Regions from separate parts of the Homo sapiens genome. Here regions 1, 2, 3, 4, 6 and 7 are each linked to region 5. The links are contacts of gene promoters, found by promoter capture Hi-C in blood cells and fetal thymus (Javierre and others, 2016). All regions are on one chromosome and are shown on one strand. The core of a region is centred on a gene start or on the middle of the fragment in contact, and the rest is flanking DNA. Distances in the headings are between cores, read along the strand shown. Region 1 overlaps TRIM38 (tripartite motif containing 38). Region 2 overlaps LINC02980 (long intergenic non-protein coding RNA 2980). Region 3 has its middle 4.6 kb from the start of H1-2. Region 4 holds the start of TRIM38 (tripartite motif containing 38). Region 5 holds the start of H4C12 (H4 clustered histone 12). Region 6 holds the start of H2BC3 (H2B clustered histone 3). Region 7 holds the start of H1-1 (H1.1 linker histone, cluster member).

The links. The method cuts DNA at HindIII sites, captures the fragments that hold promoters and counts their contacts. A CHiCAGO score of 5 or more calls a contact.
Region 1: a fragment that was not itself captured here is called in contact with the fragment with the promoter of H4C12 in region 5 in 1 of 17 cell types (monocytes); the score reaches 5.2 in monocytes.
Region 2: a contact is called between a fragment that was not itself captured here and the fragment with the promoter of H4C12 in region 5, in 1 of 17 cell types (neutrophils). The highest score is 5.6, in neutrophils.
Region 3: a contact is called between a fragment that was not itself captured here and the fragment with the promoter of H4C12 in region 5, in 7 of 17 cell types (M0 macrophages, fetal thymus, neutrophils and 4 more). The highest score is 9.1, in M0 macrophages.
Region 4: a contact is called between the fragment with the promoter of TRIM38 here and the fragment with the promoter of H4C12 in region 5, in 8 of 17 cell types (neutrophils, activated CD4 T cells, monocytes and 5 more). The highest score is 15.9, in neutrophils.
Region 6: a contact is called between the fragment with the promoter of H2BC3 here and the fragment with the promoter of H4C12 in region 5, in 17 of 17 cell types (monocytes, activated CD4 T cells, total B cells and 14 more). The highest score is 57.2, in monocytes.
Region 7: a contact is called between the fragment with the promoter of H1-1 here and the fragment with the promoter of H4C12 in region 5, in 17 of 17 cell types (activated CD4 T cells, total CD4 T cells, M0 macrophages and 14 more). The highest score is 41.2, in activated CD4 T cells.

Annotation. Positions count from the first base shown.
Region 1 is chr6:25,983,497-25,986,919 of GRCh38, forward strand. TRIM38 (tripartite motif containing 38) reads left to right here. Exons shown (of 8, transcript NM_006355.5): 8 at 1-3,423. The coding sequence ends at 191. Among named protein-coding and RNA genes, the nearest start is that of LINC02980, 7.5 kb to the right of the region's middle. The HindIII fragment of the contact is 4,548 bases long and covers 1-3,423 here.
Region 2 is chr6:25,999,849-26,002,955 of GRCh38, forward strand. It overlaps LINC02980 (long intergenic non-protein coding RNA 2980), which reads left to right. Exons shown (of 3, transcript NR_186645.1): 3 at 1,402-1,927. Among named protein-coding and RNA genes, the nearest start is that of LINC02980, 8.7 kb to the left of the region's middle. RefSeq lists an enhancer at 1-305. The HindIII fragment of the contact is 819 bases long and covers 996-1,814 here.
Region 3 is chr6:26,059,580-26,062,636 of GRCh38, forward strand. No RefSeq gene overlaps it. Among named protein-coding and RNA genes, the nearest start is that of H1-2, 4.6 kb to the left of the region's middle. The HindIII fragment of the contact is 1,769 bases long and covers 618-2,386 here.
Region 4 is chr6:25,960,643-25,964,051 of GRCh38, forward strand. TRIM38 (tripartite motif containing 38) reads left to right here and starts at 2,160. Exons shown (of 8, transcript NM_006355.5): 1 at 2,160-2,213; 2 at 2,407-2,640. The HindIII fragment of the contact is 6,907 bases long and covers 1-3,409 here.
Region 5 is chr6:27,830,014-27,833,369 of GRCh38, forward strand. H4C12 (H4 clustered histone 12) reads right to left here and starts at 1,547. Exons shown (of 1, transcript NM_003541.3): 1 at 1,161-1,547. The coding sequence starts at 1,514. The coding sequence ends at 1,203. RefSeq lists enhancers at 998-1,107, 1,031-1,856. The HindIII fragment of the contact is 8,845 bases long and covers 1-3,356 here.
Region 6 is chr6:26,042,026-26,045,460 of GRCh38, forward strand. H2BC3 (H2B clustered histone 3) reads right to left here and starts at 1,688. Exons shown (of 1, transcript NM_021062.3): 1 at 1,202-1,688. The coding sequence starts at 1,632. The coding sequence ends at 1,252. It overlaps H3C3 (H3 clustered histone 3), which reads left to right and starts at 3,359. Exons shown (of 1, transcript NM_003531.3): 1 at 3,359-3,435. The coding sequence starts at 3,386. It also overlaps the pseudogene H2AC5P. RefSeq lists enhancers at 1,932-2,171, 3,402-3,435. The HindIII fragment of the contact is 16,277 bases long and covers 1-3,435 here.
Region 7 is chr6:26,015,694-26,019,102 of GRCh38, forward strand. It overlaps H1-1 (H1.1 linker histone, cluster member), which reads right to left and starts at 2,094. Exons shown (of 1, transcript NM_005325.4): 1 at 1,339-2,094. The coding sequence starts at 2,039. The coding sequence ends at 1,392. It also overlaps the pseudogene H3P26. RefSeq lists an enhancer at 287-1,286. The HindIII fragment of the contact is 5,921 bases long and covers 761-3,409 here.

The DNA.
Region 1 (3,423 bases), core at 165-2,664, 1.8 Mb before region 5:
TTCATCTGCATGAGCAGCCCCTGCTTGTGGGAATTTTTCTGGACTATGAGGCCGGAGTTGTATCCTTTTATAACGGGAATACTGGCTGCCACATCTTTACTTTCCCGAAGGCTTCCTTCTCTGATACTCTCCGGCCCTATTTCCAGGTTTATCAATATTCTCCTTTGTTTCTGCCTCCCCCAGGTGACTAAGGAAAAGAGCAGAAGCTCCTTGGTTTAACCAGCACAGAGAAAATAATATAAATCCCATAAGGGCAGACGTTTGGTCTGTTTTCTTCGCTGTCATTTCCTTAGTAGTTAGACTAGTGCTGAGATTTTAGTGGATATATAATTGATTTATGTTGAATATATGGACTTAGCAACTAAAAATACCACAGATGGTTAACCTGGACTGGGGCAAAGCAAGATAATAGTGATGATCGTATGTTGCTGTCTCCATCCGTCTTTAATGGGTCAGGGCTTTGATTTCCAAGGGTCTTCAGGTGATGAGTAGGGGTACCCACAAGTCAGAAGGTCTGCGTTCTCCTAGTTTGTTTGCTGCCATTTGAACTCATGTAGGGAATGAAAGAAAGCTGCAATTATCCGCCAACTGCATTTAAAACAAAACAAAACAGAAAAATCAAAATAACATTGACTCTTCCAACCACTGACATGTTGTTTAATAATCTAAGCGGCAGTCCTGGAGGCTACCAGACTTACTGAGTTCTACCTGAGAAACAGCCAAGCAAAGTGTGAGAGAAGGGTTAAGACTGGCTTACAATGAGATGCTTCAAATGAAAAGGGAATTATGAGTAAAATTGAACTTTGATGGGGGATTCAGTTCTGGAAAAGAATTTGGTATTTTCCAGTCTGCTAGGACCAATTACCTTGAAATATTTTAAAATCTCAGTAAATAGTTATTGCTGAAATGGCTGTTGGCAGTTCTTATTATGATTCAGAGAAGAGCAAATAGACCTTAACTTCATTTTGAAAAAGACCAAATTACCATACCCGAGTGAGTAATGACAGGACTACAACTAAAACATAAACAACATTAATGATGACCATAAAAAGTCACAAAATTGCTAAATGTTATAATTTAGAGTTGACATAAAAATTGATGGCCAGGCATGGTGGCTCACGCCTGTAATCCCAGAACTATGTGAGGCTGAGGCAGGTGGATCACTTGAGGTCAGGAGTTCAACACCAGCCTGGCCAACATGGTGAAACCCTGTCTCTACTAAAAATACAAAAATTAGCCGGGCATGGTGGTAGGGGCCTGTAACCCAGCTACTCGTGAGGCCAAGGCAGGAGAATTGCTTGAGCCTGCAGCAGCTGCAGTAAGCCAAGATCATGCTGTGCCTCAAGGAAAAAAAAAATTAATGTTTACTGATATTTGTTGAAGTCCTACAACATCACCTCTGAGAATAGGAGAAATGAAGCAACAGTTGTGTCTAGATGTCAGAGGCATGGCTGGGCCTCCATCTCTGCCTAAGGGAGATATAAAAGAGTTCAAACTATTGCCCATGTTCCCCAGGGTCAGAAGTTCTAATTATGATGATAGAGGCTGGGTTGTAAGTAGTAAGTGAAGGGTAGCAGAATATGCCATCTTTGGCATAAGAAGTATTTTGAGTTGAAGACAATTGAGAAAAAAAATAGATTAAAAACAAACAAACACCTCTGCCCTCTCCCTATTTGCCTAAAAGCAGGATATGAAATTGTGAAGGTGTCTTCTTACTCGGGGAAGAACAAAAGTTAGTCACCAGAGACTTTAGACTCTTATCAGCCTGGACATAGCACCAGAGAAGTCTTTTTTTTTAAAAAAAAAAAAAAAAAAAGGGAAAGAAAAAGTTGCCTTCCCACAATTTACTGCACTAGAAACTCAAAGTCCTTTTCGTCTTCCTTGTCACTTAAAAAATGTATTCTTTTCTTAAAATGCTATATAAGCCCAAGTTCTAAATCCTCTTTTGAGTATTCATCTCAGTACTCCCCTGTGTTTGTACAATGCACATGCTTTGTTTCTGTCTTGTCAATCTGTCTTTTGTTAGTCTACTTGATAGGGCCACAGATGGAGAACCTAAGATGAATAGAAAAAAAAGATTTTTCTCCCCAACAGAAGGATTATCGCCAGTTGCACTTGTTCTATATACCCGTAGTCTCGGTATGCTGACCCAGACTTGGGTAATAGGACCCAGTGGGTAACCGAGGAACCCCACCTTTGTGCAGGATCAGTGAAGATGTAATCTGGATATTCATAAGCTCTTCTCTACCTCTTGGCATCCCACAGTCCTGTGTTAATGTAAGTGTGGTCTTCCCCAGAAAGGGGAGGCCTCCCTAACATTGTTAAAGCCTAGCATATGCTGCTTAGAGGAAATTCTATATCCCTAAGCACTTAGATTGCTGAATAAGAAAGAATGATAATAAAATAAACAATTAAATAAAAGTTTTAAAAAATGAATAAAATAAACCTGTGGAAACTATAAGGAAGGCCAGAAGAAATATAAAATTGGAGATTAATTGGGGTGCAGGAAAGTTATGGAAAGAATATAAGTCCTGCTAGATAAATCATTAGCTATTTTAATAAAGAATACAGAAGAAAATAGGAACAAAAGAATATATACTGGAATAATTTTGAGAGTAATTTGAAGAATTAGATGCAAATAAATTTGAAAACCTTTAAAAAGAAACCAATGGCCTAACTGACCCAAGAAGGGAAAGAAAATCTAAACAGACTGATAAATACAAAATGAAATTCAGACACTTACAGAGCAGCCAGGCATGGTGGCTCACACCTGTAATCCTGTCACTTTGGGAGGCTGAGATGGGAGGATCACTTGAGGCTAGGAGTTTGAGACTAGCCTGGGCAAGGCTCCCATCTCTAAAAGAAAAGAAATTAGCTGGGCATGGTGGCATGTGCCTTAGTTTCAGCTACTCAGGAGGCTGAGACGAGGATTGCTTGAGCCTAGGAGGGCAAGGCTGCAGTGAGCCATGGTCATGCCACTGAATTCCAGCCTAAGTGACAGAGCAAGACCTTGTCTCAAAAAAAAAAAAAAAAAAAGTTACAGAGCTCCAACTAAATAATGTGGGGAACAAAAGAAAAAAGAAGATGATTTTATGGCTGATTTTTTTTTTAAGGAAAAGCAATTCATGTACCCTTGAAGATTAGATTAAGTTCTATAAAATAGCCCAAAATGACAGTGGCTGAAACAAGTTTATTTCTCTCCCATTTAAAGCAAGTCTAGATGTGGAAGTCTGGGAAGCCCAGAAAATCCAGGTCTTGTTTGTGTATGGAAACTCCAGAAAATCACAGATTCCTTCCAGCCACCCCTCAATTACCCCTGGGATCCAAGAGAGCCACTAAAGTTCCAGCCATCATACTCACAACCCAAGTTGTAGGATGGAAAAAAGGACACAAAAGTAGGGTGAAGAGCATGTGTGCAACAGC
Region 2 (3,107 bases), core at 155-2,654, 1.8 Mb before region 5:
CTTCAAGTCATTGAGATGTTTATGTGTATGCATATCTAAAGCACAGCACTTAATTCTTTACCTTGTTTATGATGCAGAGACCTTTGTTCACGTGTTTACCTGCTGACCTTCTCTCCACTATTATCCTTTGACCCTGCCACATCCCCCTCTCCGAGAAACACCCAATAATGATCAATAAATACTAAGGGAACTCAGAGGCCGGTGGGATCCTCCGTATGCTGAACACCGGTCCCCTGGACCCCTTTTTTTCTTTCTCTATACTTTGTCTCTGTGTCTCTTTCTTTTCCAAGTCTCTCATTCCACCTAACGAGAAACAACCACAGGTGTGGAGGGGCAGCCCAACCCTTCAACCTACCTATCTTATCTCTTCCATTATCTATCCACATATGTCCTCTGTATTTTTTTGAGTAACATTTATAAGCATAAGTCCTTAGGTAGCTATGCCACTTACATAATGAACTAGAAAAGGTAACCAAACAGAATAGGGTTGTACTCAGATATACCTTCTACAAGTTTGTGTTACACATATTTACACATATTTAAAAATATATACATATTATTATTGTGCTGTGTGGTTATTAGGCAAACTCAATAAGCAGTTCTTATAAAGTATACTCAATGTAACTTTTATAAACTTACCATATTTTATAGTTATTCTGTTTTTATTAGCTGCTATAAACTACCTGGGTGTCTTGCATGAGTCATTTTATTGTAATGTTTTTGTATCTGTTGAATGAGGAGTTAGAAGGCATCATCTTTAAGGAGCTTTACAGGTACATGTCCAGGGCTCAATAATTTTATTATTATTTCCTGGACAGATAAAACCTAAGCAGGTGAAGGGGAAAGAATAAAAGTGCAGGGTGGAAGTTGCTTGAATGCTAACTGGGTCAACGATCTCCCAGAAAACCCCTGTAAAAGAAACCTAAGAACCTACATCACCAGGAGACCATTGGGACCAGTTCCTCTGGAATCCCTGAGGCCAGATAATCAGCTGAAGCTTTACATTCTGTCCCTTTCTGGTCATGACTTTCTCCACAGTCTGCTTGGTGCCTCCTCCTCTGTGACTCTAAATTCTTAGGATCAACCCCTCTTGCATATGCACATCCGCAGTGCCTGTGGGATACGGTGTGGTGTGGGGAGGAAACTCTCTTCTGCCTTAATATTTTCCTGTGTGCCCCAGGCCTTGACGGAATCCTGTCTCTCCATAATGTTGCTTTTCGAGGAGACTGATTGATTGAGATGGCGTCTCACTTTGTCGCCCAGGCTGGAATGCAGTGGCGTGATCTCGGCTCACCAACCTCCACCTCCAAGGCTCGAGTGATTCTCCCACTTAAGTCTCTTGAGTAGCTGGGACTACAGGTGCATGCCACCACGCCTGACAAATTTTTTTATTTTTTGTAGAGATGAGGTTTCGCCATGTTGACCAGGCTGGTCTCAAACTCCTGGACTCAAGTGATCTGCCCACCTCGGCCTCCCAAAGTACTGGGATTACAGGCATGAGCCAATGTGCCCGTCCTGAGGAGTTTTCTTCTGGAATTCCTGCTGGGTTTTTGTAGTCAGTCCTCTCCCCATTTCCCACATTGGCTCTTGCAGACCTTCCTTTTCCCCATTTCTATTTGCTACCATGTCAGACATGACTTTTGCCATAGGATCTCTATTCTACTATAGAGGAAACCAAAGCCATCAGTAGAAATTTCACTAACATGGAATCAGATTTATAGAAGAAAGGGGGAGGAAAGTTTTGCCTTAACACCTGGAAGGGTTTCGTTTCTTTTAGTAGCTGGGAGACAGAAACATAAGAAAGTAGCTTAGTAAGCTTTCTGCTGTTCAACTGATGATGTGTGAGCTGTCAGTAGTTCAAACTAGTCATTATCTTTATGAATTAATTATGTAATAACTTAAACAATGTCATAAACCTTCAAATCAGTTTAAGTCTAAATGTGTCATATTTAATAACAAGAGCAAGAAACATACGTTATGATGAAGAGCTCTTATATTTTCTTTGGATAAAAGTCAGTAGGCGGGGCGCGGTGGCTCATGCCTGTGATCCTAGCACTTTGGGAGGCTGAGGTGGGCAGATCATGAGGTCAGGAGATCGAGACCATCCCGGCTAACACGGTGAAACCCTGTCTCTACTAAAAATACAAAAAATTAGCTGGGCGTGGTGGCGGGCGCCTGTGGTCCCAGCTACTCGGGAGGTTGAGGCAGGAGAATGGCGTGAATCCGGGAGGCGGAGGTTGCAGTGAGCCGAGATTGTGCCACTGCATTCCAGCCTGGGCGACAGAGCAAGACTCCGTCTCAGAAAAAGAAAAAAAAAAAAAGTCAGTAAAATTTAAGAGAAAAATGCATTTGCTTTGGGACTTTTAATATTTAGTCTACAAATCTAGCCACCATAGAAATCTGCTGATTAAATACGGGTTCTGTTAAAATGGAAACATGCATTTTGGGGGAAAAAAGAGGGAGTGTTTTAGTGATTTTGTTTTTTACACTTGTTTATAATAAAATTTTAAGCAATCTTGAGGGGAACATTTTATTTCTACTTGTAACTGCATAAAGTTATGAGATAAAGTTACAAGCTATATCACATACAGTTTGTAGCTTTATAAATTATGAAATTCTAACAGAATAAATATGCTAATATGATGAAAATGTCATAAATTACATTAGAATATATTTTAATAAACCAATTCAGAAGGAGCCAATACCCAATTTCAAAATCATATTAATTGTAAAATTAATTAGGGCAGCCAAAATATTCTGGAATTCTTTCTAATAAAACAAATGAGTGTAAATACAGTCGTACTGACAAATCTGAAGAATTATGCAGCATAAAAAGTGATTATCCCAGCACTTTGGGAGGCCAAGGTGGGCAGATCATGAGGTCAGGAGTTGGAGACCAGCCTGACCAACATGGTGAAACCCCGTCTTTACTAAAAATACAAAAATTAGCCGGGCTTGGTGGTGCACACCTGTAATCCCAGCTGCTCAGGAGGCTAAGGCAGGAGAACTGCTTGAATCCAGGAGGTGGAAGTTGCAGTAAGCCAAGATCACGCCACTGCACTCCAGCCTGGGCGACAGAGTGTGACTCTGACTCAAAAAAAAAATAA
Region 3 (3,057 bases), core at 252-2,751, 1.8 Mb before region 5:
GTTGACATTCTTTTTTAAATGATAAATCTTCAGAACCTGGTGTGTATTTTACACTTTTAGAACATTTTAAATCAGTCTAGCTATAGTCCAAATGGTCAATGATCACGTGTAGCTAGTGGTACCTTATTGGACAACACTGTCCTACGTGAAAGTAACTCTGACTTAATGTTTACATTTTATTGGGTCCAGACTATCTAAAAGTAAACATTCACTTGTAGAAGTTTAATAAATTAATAAGGATTTTGTCATAGAGATGGAAATGAATTCTTAATATAGAAAAAATGACCCTAAAAGTTATTATTGTATTGCCTAATAAGTCATTAAACAACTTTATATCTGATTTTCCCTTCCTCTTCCAGTATACATCCTTTCCCTGACCAAATACATATTTTATTCTCCCGTATCTTCCTTTGACCTAATTGTGATTCTGCTTCCTCCTTCATTAATGAATTAAATCATTCATTGACACATACACAAGCTCACTATATATAGTACATATATGTCAGTCATGTTTTTAACTTCCTGAATGTTGTACTTTGACACTTGGTTGTTCAATTTCGCCTAAGAGCTCTGAATCAGAACCTTTAGAAGCCATTCTGAAAAACTGGAAGATACAAAGCTTTTGACTATCAACTCCATAGCAACCTGATATCTGGTTGGTGTTCCATGGAAACTGTATTTCTCAAATTTTGAAATAAGATTGAACAAGCCTGTGAGCAACAACAAAAAAAAAGTCTATTAGAATGACCTCTGGCCGGGCGGGGTGGCTCACGCCTGTAATCCCAGCACTTTAGGAGGCTGAGGTGGGCAGATCATGAGGTCAGGAGTTTAAGACCAGCCTGACCAACATGGTGAAATTCCGTCTCTTCTAAAAATACAAAAATTAGCTCGGCATGGTGGCGTGCATCTGTAATCCCAGCTACTTGGAAGGCTGAGGCAGGAGAATCACTTGAACCCAGGAGGCGGACGTTGCAGTGAGCTGAGATTGCGCCACTGCACTCCAGCCTGGGTGACAGAGCGAGACTCTATTTCAAAAAAAAAAGAATGACCTCCAAGGGAAAGTTCAGATTAAGGATGTGGTCGTCCCACCCAAAACTGATGTCCTCAAGAAAGCCACAAACAAATTGAGGACACAGTTAAAATATTGTAATGCAATATATTGTGTATTCTTTTATTTACACACACATCATAAATATTATAGGTTGACTAGTTTTGTTTCATGCCACACTCTTCAGGGTCTGGAAACCCTGGTAGAAAAGTTAAAAATGCAGAGCAAAATGTCAAGTCCAAACAGCAGTAATGGGGCTAGAGAGAGACTCAAACAGCCAAGATATATTCAAAGGATAGTGAGAGGAGTTGTTAGGACAGGTGTAAGGAATGAGGGTGACAGCTGGTTTTTCTTTCACTTTTTCCTTCTACTATGCCAATTAGAGTTCTTTGTTTTTGATAGAGACAGGGGTCTCACTATGTTGCTCAGGCTGGTCTCAAACTCTTGGCACCAAGTGATCCTCCTGCCTCAGCCTCCCAAAGTTTTGAGATTATAGGTGTGAACCACCAAGCCCAGCCTTAGAGTAGGGTTCTGTCATCTTTTGGATGTAGCTAACCTAATATTACTAAATCCTGTATAGGCCAGAACTTTGAATGATTTAAAGCTGTTTTTTCCTGACTCACCAATTAATGAAGCTAATAATAACAGCCACCCCACTGGCAGTGCCTGCCTCAAAGAGTAAGTGTTAGTGTTGCTATCTGCTTGAGACCAACAATACAGGGACTCCAGGATATTTTCAGCCTAAATAAGATTGTAGGGGCTCTTGTCTGTTGCCTGGCTTCAGCCCCATAAACTTTTTTTTAACATATAACCCAGAGCCACAGTTTTGCTCATATTTCAATCTTTGAAGGCAAATGGCCAACAATTAGATTAAACCTGAGGCTAAATATTTCCTCACCTCAAGGGCTGAGACGAAAGTTACTGCATCTGTATTCCCTAACACGCCCTCAAAATGGGTTGCAGAAAACAACAGAAAATATACTAAAGCACACAGTAGGAGCATAATAAATAGTGATTAGCTGGGTGCAGTGGCATGCGCCTGTAGTTCCCGCTACTCTACTCATGAGGCTGAGGCAGGAGGATCACTTTTGCCAAGCAGTTTGAAGTTGCAGAGAGCTATGATCACAACACTTCACTCTAACCTGGGCAACAGAGCAAGACTCTGTCCAGAAAAATAAATACATAAATATAAAATTTAAAAATATAAATAAATACATAGAGAGTATTACAAAAGGAACAATATATTGCAAAATATATTTACCTAACATTTTGAAATTGCCATTATAATTGTATAAGTGACATAGGAAACTGGGTCATTAACAGCTATCTTATTCTTCAAGCTTCTTTCAAATGATGTCAAAGCATTTCAGAAAGTCAAACCTACCCTCAAAGGATAAGAATTTGTCAATTGTGAGGATATGCACATTTTTACACCTTCTCAATCTGTGTCTATATGAAGGCAGTTATAAAGCACAAGATGCAAACGTATATTAGGCAATAGTCTTCATCAGAATAAGTACATAACCTGACACAATGACTATATTGGAAGAAACATGGAAATGCAAATTTCAATAGATTGGTTGACATTATTTTTTAATGTCTAGTTTTTTACTGTGCTGTGTTTTTACACACTTAATGAGCACTTGTTAAGCACAGGACACCAGGAGAAATAATAAAAACTAAGATCAGCCTAGCAGTGTGTCCTCTCAAGAACTTATACCTGGTGGGACAGATACAGACAAATATAACCATCATACAGTGTGAGAAATCGATAGAAAAGACACAGCCACTGAGAGCACAAAAGAATAAAAACATAAAATGTTAATGTGCTGGCTAAACGTTTGCCTTCAAGTATTTACCAGTCTAGCTGGGAAAATAAGACAGAAGACAACAGCCTAAAATAGTGGTTCTTAAACATTTAGATATCAGGACTTCTTTACACTCCTAAAAACTATCAGGCCTCCAAAAAATATTTTGCTAAATATAGGCATTTATCACTTTGGAAAACA
Region 4 (3,409 bases), core at 910-3,409, 1.9 Mb before region 5:
GCTGTGTCCCCACCTAACTCTCATCTTAAATTCCCACATATTGTGGGAGGGACCTGGTGGGAGGTAATTGAATCATGGGGGCAGGTCTTTCCCTGAGTAATTTATACTGCTGTTCTCATGATAGTCAATAAGTTTCATGAGACCTGATGGTTTTATAGAAAGGAATTTCCCTGCACAAGCTCTTTGCCTGCTGCCATCCATGTAAGACCTGACTTGCTCCTCCTTGCCTTCTGCTGTGGTTGTGAGGTCTCCCCAGACACGTGGGACTGTAAGAGCATGAAACATTTTTTCCTGGTATAAATTACTCAGTCTCAGGTATGTCTGGATCAGCAGTGTGAAAATGGACTAATACAGATACTTACAGTTATTTCTTGATTATGTACTAAACAAGGAGTGGATTATTCATATGTTTTCTGGGAAAGATGTGGGCAATTCCCAGAACCAAGCGTTCCTCCCCTTTTTAGACTATATAGGGTAGCTTCCTGACATCGCCATGGTATTTATAAACCACTATGGAGCTGGTGGGAATGCCTTCTAACTTGCTAACACATTATAATTCGTGTATAATGAGCAATGAGAATGACTAGAGGCCACTCTTGTTGCCATCTTGATTTTGGTGGGTTTTGGTCAGCTTCTTTACTGCAACCTGTTTTATCAGCAAGATCTTTATGACCTGTGTCTTGTGCCAACTGCCTATTTCATCCTGTGACTTACAATGCCTAACTTCCTGGGAATGCAGCCCAGTAGGTCTCAGCCTTATTTTACCTAGCCCCCATTCAAAATGGAGTCATTCTGGTTTGAACACCTCTGACAATAGGACAGATCTGGAATGAGCCATGCCTGGGTACAGAGTCACATCCACAACAATGAAAGTTGTAGATATCTGCAAGGACTCATCGTGGGACCAAGGATTCAGGGGCTCATTCTTTCTCCTCTCTCTGTGTGCTGGTTGCCTCAGGAGTAGAATGTCCCATGCTATGCATGGGGTCTGCAACCATCATGCCAGGGCATGATGAATCGTAGGTGGCAAAACAACAGAAGGCTCTGTGAGCACCCAGGAGGGTGCAGTGCTGAAGAGTCTTCTGCTTGGTATAGGAAGAAAGGAACGTGTTTCCCAATCTTGCCTTTATTTTGAGTAGTTGGACCAGAGGGATTGCAGCTGGGCCAAACTCCATGTTCCATTGGCTATCAGGGTCAGCAGGCAGGCCAGGGGCCCAGACAGGCCAGTGGCTCCCAGAATTCAAGTTTAATTTCTCCTCCCACCTGTGTCCTGAGCTCCCCTTACTGGTTCCCTTGGACCACTGCATCTACTTAAGCCAGCATTTATTATGTTGTTATCATAAATGCCTCTTACACCTGAGACTTATAAATGTGACAAGCTCTTATTGTGAGATAGTAATCCATCTTTTTTCCCCATGAAATAATAATTCTAACGGGTGGTGATAGTACTTTTCCTTTCATTTTGAAGTGGAGAAGCTGGAGCTAAGTCATTAAGGACTTGACCCTGGACCCCACAGCCTTTTCTCCACAAAGCACAAAGCAGAGTGATGGTCCCAGGGATCCCACACAGCTCTAAGCTGGGGGCACTCACTGCTGGGCCACTAGTGACTCCCATTTTCTATCCTGGCTGACCCTCGCTATTGAAGAAGATCTGAGTCCTGCAGAAGGACAGCAAGGAGAAAAACAAGACACAGAACGGGACAGAGAAGAATAGAAAGCTGACTCAGATGAATTTTGTGATGCCAATGAGTCCTACTGCTGTTACCACCCCTTTTTCCACCACACCCTTCAGAGCAGTTATAGAACCACAAGCAACCCATAAATAGCAAAAGAAGTAACATCAGCTAGGAAGGCTTAAGGACTCCCAAGGGAGTTGGTGGCAAAAGTAGAAAGATCTCAAATCAGAGTCTGTGAACTGAACCTCTGCAGGCTTCCTGTTTTTAGATACTCTGTGTTGGGGTCACATGATAGTTTACAGGGTTATTAATTGGTTCCTTCTTTTTATTGCTGTAAAAGAAGGATATTTTCTTCCTACGTTTCCCCCTCCTTTACCGGAGAGGCGGAGTGCAAATGATATGAACAACGTCACTAGTTTTCTCCTAAATCTTATGAGCCCCGCCTCCCACAGTAGTTTCACTTCTCAGTTTAATCCGGTCTGAGTTAACTTCCTGACCCAGGAAGTGGCAGCAACAGAGGGGACTAGCAGCGAATATGTAAGTGTCTGAGCAGTGAAGGTTACGGAAAAGGTCCAGGCTAAGGTTTTCTCAGTGGATATGTGAGTGTGTACTGATGGCAAGTGGGGTGGGGAATATATTTCGTGACAGCAGGGCCCCTCCAACTCTGAAAATGGTCAGGACTTTCTTTGTTTTACAGCTCTCACCTCTTTCCTGCTCTTTCTTTCACCAGACTTTACACCAAATCTCAGAAGATTCAGAACTTAGATGAGTGGGGCCCAGGACAGGAACCCTGGAGCCTTGGAAGGAGGGGAGCCCCATCTCCCCAGAAGAGCAGTGACCCCAGCAGAGAGGGGCCTGGTGTATCACTGGAGGAAATAGCCTGCCAAGGAATACACGTCTTCAGAAGAAATTCTGTGTGGCTTCAAGAGACTGATCAAATTGTGAGAGGAAAACAGCCTACCCGGTAATTGTAGTTAAATTACTGTTTTTTATTCTAGGCACTCTTCAAACTTCCTCCTGACTCTGCCCCTGTCCTAGAGGAGCTCCCAGGAGTAGGGGTGTGGGGGCGGGCGGGGGGGAGGGATCGGGGGTACAGGGAGAGCCCAGCTAGGTTCTCAGAAGAGGCAGGCTTTTTCGCTCCTGGTCACTCCTCTGTTGCCTATCCCTGGCCTCCCCCATCTTCTTTCTGCCTTCCCTACCTCCTTGGGTCTGCAAACTCTTTATGTTGCAATCACTCTGAACATGTCTCTTGAGATAGGTCCTGTCCTGGAGAAGAGATAGTAAAAGTAAACTCCCCAGTTCTGCAGGAGCTCTGATCCCATAGAAATAACTGCTCCTCAGGAGCAAACCCTCTGCTCTGCAGCCTTCTTTCCAATTCTTATTCCCTCAGTTTAGGGAGAGGGCACAAAAAGGATAAACCGGTTCTTCTGGTTGTTCTGGTTGCCTTGATTGCTTCCATTATCCTCCTGGTTGGGTCTCTAGCAAGACGTTATTAGCCAGGGAAGTCCCACTTAGGCACCCCTCTCTGCAGAAGAGGTATTCACTATTCTCCTTTCTCTTTCTTTTGCCTATTATACCTCTGCTCCTGAAAGCAAAAACAACAACAACAAAAACACAAACAAAAAACAACCGACCTTATTAACCAGTGTTGGTTGTTGTTCTTTGTGGGGGATGGGGGGGGTCGAGGTGGAGTCAAATTTTATTGTCATGATGGTGTAGGAGCCAAGGGAACA
Region 5 (3,356 bases), core at 297-2,796:
GAGGATGACTACAGCATGACTGGATGGGCTTGCTATGATTTTTATCTTTCCCTGTGTTCTCACTACCGTTTTATTAATCTCAGTTCTTTTTCACAGGGTAGCACAGAATTTAACTAGCAGAAAGAGATCCAGCCATGTAGACCAGAGATTTGTCTAAGTGACGGCATGTAAGAATCAGGAAGGAAAGTTTTTTGTTTAAATACCAACAGGTTCCTTCCTTAAAGCAATTATTATTTTTCAAATCTAACCCACAAGGTGATAGTATCCTTAAACCAATTAAATCAGAATCTCGGGTTGGATAACCTCAAATATGACTTATTAGCACTTCCCATTAATCACTGGTCCTTCAGGCCTTTAAGTTTACTTACTAGGAATCTCACTTTTAATACCATCTTATCAACTTCAGTTGTAAATAAGAGAACACTCAAAGGCTGAGGAATTCTCAGCGGTAAAGCTCTGCCCACGTTAAGTAACAAAGGATAAGTTAGTCTTTGTTGTGATCACTTTGTTGTACTGATAAGCTACGTATTTCTACTCAAGGATTCAAATTCTCACCTTTCTCAAGAATTGGGCCAAAACCGATAAACTAAACTTATTTACGGTCCACTGATTAAAGGTTGTTGCATAATAAGTTCTTGCTATGTTCAGCAGTTGGATTCACAGCGCCAGAAACCTATAACTGCTTGACTTTCCTCCCCACTACACTGCGAAAATTGCCCCTTAAATGTAACTAACCCTAAAACCTCAACAGTATCGTGGCCAGGCGTGGTGGCTCACTACTGTAATACCAACATTAGGCATAGGCGAGGGGATTGAGGCCAGGATATCGAAACTAGCCTGGGAAACACACGGAGACCCGGTCTTTGGAAAAATAATTAGCCTTGCGTGGTGGTGGGCGCGAGGTTCCGGCTAATCGGGAGGCTACAGTGAGCCATGATGACACTGCACTACAGTCTGCGCGACGGCCCATGTCAGTAAGCTCTGGAGCACCTGAAACAAGTTGTGTTGGGTATTTTATTTACTGGAGAGCGATTAGTGACTGATGCCTACTTACAGCGACTAGAGACGCATGCTCCGATAGCAGCACAAACTCAGCAGGCGCGAACAAATGGTAAAGAGAAACTGGGCAAACAAGCATCACGGCTCCTCAGCTGAGAAAGTGGGGGCCCTAAAAAGGGCCTTTTGTTGATAGAAAGGGACGCTCAACCACCGAAACCGTAGAGGGTGCGGCCCTGGCGCTTGAGCGCGTAGACCACATCCATGGCGGTGACCGTCTTGCGCTTGGCGTGCTCTGTATAGGTCACGGCGTCCCGGATCACGTTCTCCAGGAACACCTTCAGCACCCCGCGAGTCTCCTCGTAGATGAGGCCGGAGATGCGCTTCACGCCGCCGCGGCGAGCAAGGCGCCGGATGGCCGGCTTGGTGATGCCCTGGATATTGTCGCGCAGTACTTTACGGTGGCGCTTAGCGCCGCCTTTGCCAAGACCCTTCCCGCCTTTGCCGCGGCCAGACATGACGAGCAAGAGGAGTCTCACCCAACGCTTTGTGAGGACTCTGGCCTGAGGCAGCGCCTTTATACGACAGTTGGCGGACCGAACTGAGAACCTGAAAGAAGTCGGCGGGAAGTCCCGCCCCGGTGGGGGAGGGGAAATCTAAAGGGCCAAACCGAAATAGGGGGAAAAAAAAAGCGAGCTTCTTGTTTCCGTGTTCTGAATTTTGTAACGTGCATAGTATTTTGTTACCACGTTATGAGGCTTTAAAAAATTGCTTTTGAACGCAGAAGATATACATCAATACTGTGGGAAATACAAGAAAGGACAAGAAATTAAGAAACTACAATGTTATCCCATCACACAGGCTAGTTAATCATGTATTTTGCAGAGCAGTTGCACATATTTTTCCAAGAAAATGTATACAGTGTTGTATATGGAGTTTTGTAACCTCCTTATATTGATTATAATTTAACCAATTTCTATTAAAGAGATAAAAGTGATGTTTTGGTGTCTATGTTTCTTAGGAATTATCAATAGTTATAATCAGTTCCCCAGCAATTTTTTAATCGGCTGTATTTTAAAAATAATGTTTTCCACATTCAACATAAATGTACTTTTTCTCTATACTTGGGACCAATATTGAAATTTATGATTTTATTACACCAAAATTTAAATTTTATTACATTAATATTTAAAATTGTATTAGAGGTCTCATGATTTGGTACTACGGGTCTCCGCATTATTTCCTTTCCAAATTTCCTAATCTGTTTCACCAAGGTTTCTGGACAACTTTAGAGACCTTTTGTGAAGTTTGAATAAAATCTCTTCGAGATTTTGATAATTGCATTAGCTTTAGGACTTAATTGGAATAGAATTAAAATCCTTAAAACAAGCTCTTATAACTAGAAAATTGGTGTTTGTAGGTTTTGTGTGTGGGGTTTTTTTTTTTTTTTGGAAGGAGTCTCGCTCTGTCGTCAGGCCGGAGGGCAGTGGTGCAATCTCGGCTCACTGCAACCTCCACCTCCCGGGTTCAAGCGATTCTCATGCCTCAACCTCCGGATTAGCGCGGACTACAGGCATGCGCCACCACGCCCAGCTAATTTTTTGTATTTTTAGTAAAGAACAAGTTTCACCATGTTGGACAGGATGCTCTTGATCTCTTGACATCGTGATCCGCCCGCCTCAGCCTCCCAAAGTGCTGGGATTACAGGCGTGAGCCGCTTCGCTTGGACGCTTGTAGGTTTTTAAAAAGACACTTTTATATGACCCAACTAAAGATTTGTTATCAACCATTATGGAGCAACTTTGATTCCGTATATTTGATTTTCTTTCTTATTAATAAATACAGGGTTATACTCTGAATTTTTTTTTTTTTTTTTTTTTTTGTGGAGACGGAGTCTCGCCCTTTCGCTCAGGCTGGAGTGCAATGGCCCAATCTTGGCTCACTGCAACCTCCACCTCCCGGGTTCAAGCGATTCTCCCACCTCAGCCTCCCCTGAGTAGCTGGGATTACAGGCACTCACCACCACGCCCGGCTAATTTTTTTGTATCTTTAGTAGAGACGGGGTTTCACCATGTTGGCCAGGCTAGTCTCCAACTCCCGACCTCGTGATCCATATGCCTCGGCCTCCCAATGTGCTGGGATTACAGGCTTGAGCCACTGCGCTCGGCCACTCTGAAATTATTTTAACATCAATGAAAATTATAAAACTCCTATAACTATTCTAATATAATCTCTTAGTATTCAATTCTTTGTTTAGAAAGTAGTTAAGAGTTGAAACTCTGGAAATAGAAAACTTTGGTTTTAGATTAAATGTTTACCTTTCAGACTCGAGCTGACTTGTTACCGATCAGACACGAGGT
Region 6 (3,435 bases), core at 438-2,937, 1.8 Mb before region 5:
AACATCAAGTATTCTTGATTTCTTATTTCAAAAATAAAAAATAAAAAATAAAGGAAGGAAAAAAGAAGAAAAAAAGAGAAGAAAAGTGTCAGAGTTACTTGAACCAGAGTAACTCCATTTTGAGTGAGGGCTAGGAAAATGAGGCTGAGACTTTCTGGGCTGCATTCCCAGAAAGTCAGTCATTCCTAGCTTCTAGATGTTTACGGTTAAGGGAACAAATAAATAATGTTTACTAAACAGACTCAGACTTAGGAGTGTCCAGATATCCCTATATCTGGAGAACAAAGGCATTCTTAATTTTGTTTAAAGATAATAATGTTGATTCTTGCAAAATATAGTAACTAAGAAAATTAATCCTTTATCACAAACTTGTAGCAGAGCACATCTCCCCATATATACAAGTATTGTACCTAGGGTGGATGCCTTCCTCCTCTTACTTTCGGGAATGTCCTGCTCCGTCTATGGAGTAGTTGTCGTTTCACCACTTTACTTTCTTAGTAAACTTGCATTTACTTTGCACTGCGGACTCACCCTGAACTCTTTCTTGCGCGGGATCCAAGAACCCTCTCTTGGGGTCTGGATGGGGACCTCTTTCCTGTAACATATTTCTGGCCACCACAGAAGGGACTATAGTACAGAAACCCTGACCCAACAGCTACCTTTGGGTAAGTGTTGGAGTTCTGTAACAAAGGAAGAAGGCAGGCAGGCAAAAAATTTATGAAAGAACATACGACAAAATAATTTCTGCTTCAAAACTTCATATTTTTTTAATTTTTTTTTTTTTTTTTTTTTGAGACGGAGTCTCGCTCTGTCACCCAGGCTGGAGTGCCATGGCGCGATCTCGGCTCACTGCAAGCTCCGCCTCCCGCGTTCACGCCATTCTCCTGCCTCAGCCTCCCGAGTAGCTGGGACTACAGGCGCCCACCATCACGCCCAGCTAATTATTTTGTATTTTTAGTAGAGACGGGGTTTCATCGTGTTAAGCAGGATGGTCTCCATCTCCTGACCTCGTGATCCGCCCGCCTCGGCCTCCCAAATTGCCGGGATTAAAGGCAAGAGGCACCGCGCACGGCCCCGTCCAAGTTAACCTTGGCTCTAAAACTTGTCTTCGCTAACATTCCAGTTGATCCTCTAGAACTGAAACAGAATAGCAGCAGCACCACCTTAAGAAATTGTGGTTATAGCTCTCCTTGTGACAAAGTAGGTGGCTCTGAAAAGAGCCTTTGGGTTTGGAAGTGCTTACATAAGCACTTATTTAGAGCTAGTGTACTTGGTAACTGCCTTAGTGCCCTCGGACACAGCATGCTTAGCCAGCTCCCCAGGCAGCAGCAGGCGCACAGCCGTCTGAATCTCCCTGGAGGTGATGGTCGAGCGCTTATTGTAGTGAGCCAGGCGAGAAGCCTCGCCCGCGATGCGCTCGAAGATGTCGTTGACGAAGGAATTCATGATCCCCATGGCCTTGGATGAGATGCCGGTGTCGGGGTGGACCTGCTTCAGAACCTTGTACACATAGATAGAATAGCTCTCCTTGCGGCTGCGCTTACGCTTCTTACCATCCTTCTTCTGCGCCTTAGTGATAGCCTTCTTAGAACCCTTTTTAGGGGCTGGAGCAGACTTAGAGGGTTCAGGCATTGCTATTCCTAAACAGAATAGAAAAGCTACTAACACTCTCCACTACAGAGTAGTACAGAGAACAGTTCAGAGCCCATGTATTTATAGTCCTGAGATTCAAATGACGGTTTAAGATTCCTCACTTCTGATTGGACAAAAGAAACACGGTTTCACTGAGGGGTGGGGTTTATGCAAATATGGAATTTATGTTATCTTTTTCTATTGGATAAAGCACCAAACATAATTGACCAATAGGATAGCTTCCTATTGCAGCCTTGCAGTTTGTATAAAAGGATTTGTTCAGGCGCCATTCCAGCTTGCTTGTCTTTCACAGTTTTCCGCTGCTTTCATAGGTCGCTATTTGCGGACGTGGAAAATGGAGCTAAAGCAAAAACTTGTTCGTCGCTACCGGGCTTGCAGTTCCCAATAGGGCAGAGTCCGTCATCTTTTTCGAAAGGGCAATTATTTTGAGCCGGTCGGAGCCGGTGCGCCAGTGTACTTACAATACCTGGCCGCCGAGATCTTAGAACTGGTGGGCAGCGCCATACGTGACAAGACCCGCAGCATCATCCCCCGCCACCTGCAGCTGGCCATCCGAAACGACGAGGAGGTCAACAAGCAGCTGGGCAACGTCACTATTGCTCAGGGAGGCGTCCTGTCCAATATTCAGGCCGTCCTGTTGCCAAAATAACAGAGCCACGATAAGGCCAAGGTCAAGTAAACACTCAAATCAGAAAACGTAGCTTACACTTGAAACGGCATTTTTCAGAGCCGTCCATAGTTACACAAGAAAGGATGATAACTTGCTTCTGTTAGGGTATTTTTTGCTTTTCGTTTGGATTGGTTTGTTTTGAGACAGTCTAGTTCTGTCACCCAGGCTGGAGTGCAGCGGCGCGATATCGGCTTACTGCAACCTCCACCCCGCCGCTTCACGCGGTTCTCATGCCTCAGCCTCCTGTGTACTTGGGATTACAGGCGTCTGCTACCGCGCCCAGCTAGTTTTTGTATTTTTATGCGAGACGGGGTTTCACCATTTTAGCCAGGGTTGTCTTGAACTCCTGGCCTCTAGTGATCGTCCCATCTCGCCCTCCCAAAATGCTGGGATTACAGGCGTGAGCCACCGCCCCCCTAGCCTAATGGTGTTAAAAAGTTAAGTTTCGAGAAAATAACACCTTCCTTTAGAAAGTACATTTTAGAGTATACAAAGTGAAACTTAAGGCCAACCAAAATAAGACATTTTGAGAACAGGCAGGGTGGGAATGTGACTTGGACTTAGAAAACAAAGGGCAAGGAAACTTGCTGTTCGCCAGTAACAAAATAGCATGGAATCTCATTCTCTGAATATAAGCGTTATTTCCCGACATGAGTCTGAACGTTTCTGGTGGTTTAGTGAGTGTTCACCAGCATTGATAACTTGCGAGACTGTCAGGAATGCAGAATTTCAAGTCCCACTCAAACTTACTGAATCGGAATTTACATTTTAAAAATCCTTAGATACCTTGTTATACACTCTGTTCTTTGGGACTGGATGAACTAGAATTTTAGACAATTTGTCGCTGCAGATAACTGAAACGAAAAGGACAGGATGGGCGGTGGGGCAACTCATCCAATAAGATTGTCTAGTAATGAACCAATCAGTCTGGTCACTCTTCAGCCAATGATTTTATCGCGCGGGACTTTTGAAATATTACAGGACCAATCAGAATGTTTCTCACTATATTTAAAGGCCACTTGCTCTCAGTTCACTACACTTTTGTGTGTGCTCTCATTGCAAATGGCTCGTACGAAGCAAACAGCTCGCAAGTCTACCGGCGGCAAAGCTCC
Region 7 (3,409 bases), core at 844-3,343, 1.8 Mb before region 5:
TCTGGGCAACAGACTGAGACCCAGTCTCAAAAGATAACGTGTTTTTTTTTTTTTTTTTTTAAAAAAACAAAACCACAAGTATGCATGTATATAGATAGGTGTATGTAAAATACTTAGTTCAAAGAAAAACATGTATATTTCTCACAAAAATAGGTGAGAATTTTTGTTTTAAAGGATAAACCTAGGTAGCTACATATTAGTTTGAGGAAGGGGGAACAGGGATGTGATGTGCCTGTATCCCTGACTTTAGACGATGGAAGGAGCTAAGCAAAACAATTGAAAAAAGACCGTTTGAAAAATACAACTGATTATTAACTCATATGCACACACGCAAAAATAAACTTTTAGAATTGAACTGCACTAAGTAAAAGTGAGTAAACTTGGCTCATCATATACTCTTGTCAGATGTAAACAAAAAAGTCCAATTATTAAAATCTGACCCCCAGAATTAAAATTGCAAAAGCTTAAAGGGGCAGTTCTGAGAAAAGGATCTTCAGTTTTGAATGTGTGGGCTCCACCAGGGTTGAAAATCCTGCACGACTGATGAAACACGATCCAGTTAAGCACAGTAATTTTCAAATATCCAATCAGGGCGCTTCCGTTTCTAAAAACAGAGAAACCGAGCAAGGGATTTTGGGTTGCAGCTCTAAAACTCCAACAAACTAAGCTCCTTTGTCCTGACAAGGGCCTAAACCAAGTCGACAGCCCGTAAGTGCACCCATGGTAAGGCGCTGCACAAAGAAAGCATTTTGCGTTTCAAAGCTTTGTCATGATGGCGCTGCAGAAAGCAAGCGAGCTAGGCCTACCTGGCGGGGCTTTCAGAGGACGCCAACGTGGGCGCCAGCCACGCCAGCAGGGTCACCGTCCTTCCCAAGGACAGACAGCTCGCTAGCCACTCCTGTGGAGAGGGCGTGGTTAAGCCATATATTTTGCCAACTATCCCAGAAGCATTTCTTAGGACCACCCAATTTCGGAAAATGCTACTTTAGCAATATTGACCCCAAAACGCAATATCCCCACTTTAACCTTGTATAATAAAAAGCCTCAAGCCTGGGACTGGGCTTCAACCTTGGTTCAATACGGTTATGACTAATTAGCTTGGAGTCGTGAGACGCGGGACTTCCGGCTACCGAAACCCAGGTGACTTTAAAACTCGATTTTAACTCGGTGCATTTGAATTCACCTTGCTATCTTTGATAGATTGAGTAGTAAATTCTTACTAGATGAGGCTATGTTAAAGTTCTATCGACTCTCCAAGTGATTCTAATATAATTGAGGGCGTGTTGCATTTGCTTGGGGGATTTCATCTGTGTACTACAGCTCTTTTCCTGAAATGCGTAGGTGGCTCTTAAAAGAGCCGTTGGGTTACTAGAAGAAACTTCTAACTGAATTTACTTTTTCTTGGGTGCCGCTTTCTTGGGTTTGGCAGTCTTTGGCTTCGTCACCCTAGCCTTGGCCGCCTTGGGTTTTACAGCCTTAGCTTTAGCAGGGCTTTTAGCTACTTTCTTGGGCTTTACAGTTTTGGGTTTTTTTGGATTCTTGGAGGATTTCCTTGTTGCCGCAGGCTTTTTAGCCTTTTTCGGAGTCTTGACGCTCTTTTTGCTAGCCCCCGTGGCCTTTTTGAGCTTTTTAGATGCACCCGTTGCCTTAGTTTTTGTAGCCACCTTTGAGGCGCCGGGCTTGGTTTCCACGGAGGACGCCTTCTTGTTGAGCTTGAAGGAACCCGAGGCTCCGGTACCCTTTGTCTGCACCAACGTTCCCTTGCTTACCAGGCTCTTAATGCCCAGCTTAATGCGGCTGTTGTTCTTCTCCACGTCGTAGCCTGCGGCCGCCAGCGCCTTTTTAAGAGCTGCCAACGACACACCACCACGCTCCTTAGAGGAGGAAGCAGCCTGCACGATCAGCTCTGACACGGAAGGGCCAGCGGGTTTTTTCTTGGAGGCTGCTGCAGCCTTAGCAGGTTTCTTTGCCTTCTTGCCAGCTAAAGGTTTCTCAGGAGCAGCAGAAGCGGCGGGGGCGGGAGGCACTGTTTCAGACATGGTGACTAACACAGCACACCAAATAAAGTGGTATAAACCTGACGAAGCAGGATGCGAAAAAAAGGCCCCAACGCAGCCTATTTATAGGGTGGGACTGCGCCGTGATTGGTGCCCGTCAGTGCCCGCCCCTCGCGCCCTAGCGCCCCCTGCGCGCTGCCGAGGGTTTCGCCCAGTCTCAGAAGGCAGCTGGGGGCCTCTAGGGCCTATGGTCCTGCTCCCCTCAACGCAAGCAAACACACAGAAAAAGCCGCTCTGGTTGCCTCATTGTGAAGGAAATTGTAGGCAGACTGCCGCCCAGTAACATCAGAGGGTACCGCTTCTCTCTCAAAAAGCAGCTCTTTTTTAGGGAGTAGGTTGAGAGGGGGCGGTTTACAAATGCAGTGCCACAAGCATCCGAGGAGTTTTATTAGAAATTTTTAGAGGTCCGTTGCCAGAGATGTTAGTTTTTAATTTGCAAGAAATGTAAAATACAGTGTTTTGAATAGTTGCGGAGGGAGAGAAAAGTGCGAGTTTTAGGCCGTGTTAGGGCCAGTTGTCATCAACTCTATTACATTTTCTGGCAATGTTTTAGAGCGATGTGTCTCGCGAATACCTTTCACGTCAAACAAGAATGAATCGTAGACAACACCAGAATTCACAAACGCTGCAATTAATACTCAAACTGCAAGTGTGGAAACGTTTCTGCACTTGCAACTTATTTCCACAGTCCAATGTGGGATGCACTTCAGGAATTTCCAATGCCCTTTTCATCCATACAACATGCCCCAAATTGGTATTAAGGTTTACAACCTGTGTTCCATGTCAGCACACGCAATCAGCGCACCATGACATGGTCAACTCATTCTTTTATTCAACAAATATTTATGGGCCTCACAAGCCTGCGAAAGGCGTTAAATGCTGGGTCCACGAAACCGGTTCCCTGACAGGCATTCTGCTGGGGAGTTAAGTCCACTTAGTGTGAAAGCAAACACGGGTGATAAATGCAAGCACACCCTGGGGATAAGATTTTATGGTAACAACCCTTTAACTTGTTTGTGGCTGTTAAGTGCATTTCAAAGTATCAATAAGCTAAAACGATCTCACATTGCCAATCAGAGACTCAGCTAATGGGAGAATAAAAAACTATTAAATCGACATCCACTTCTACAATCCTATTCTGGATAACCCCCTAGCACAGCACAGCAGAGAGTGAGGTAATGCGGTCTTATTTCCGCTCCTGCTGTGGTAGTTTTCAAATAAGTCCGAACCATGCTAAGTAACCTGAGCTTTTCCCCTTTTTGTTCAAACAACGTGCCAACCAAATAATGGAGTGGTCCCAGATAAGTATTGTACCCATCTTCTGCACCAGTGCTTCCTACGTCCCATTTTAT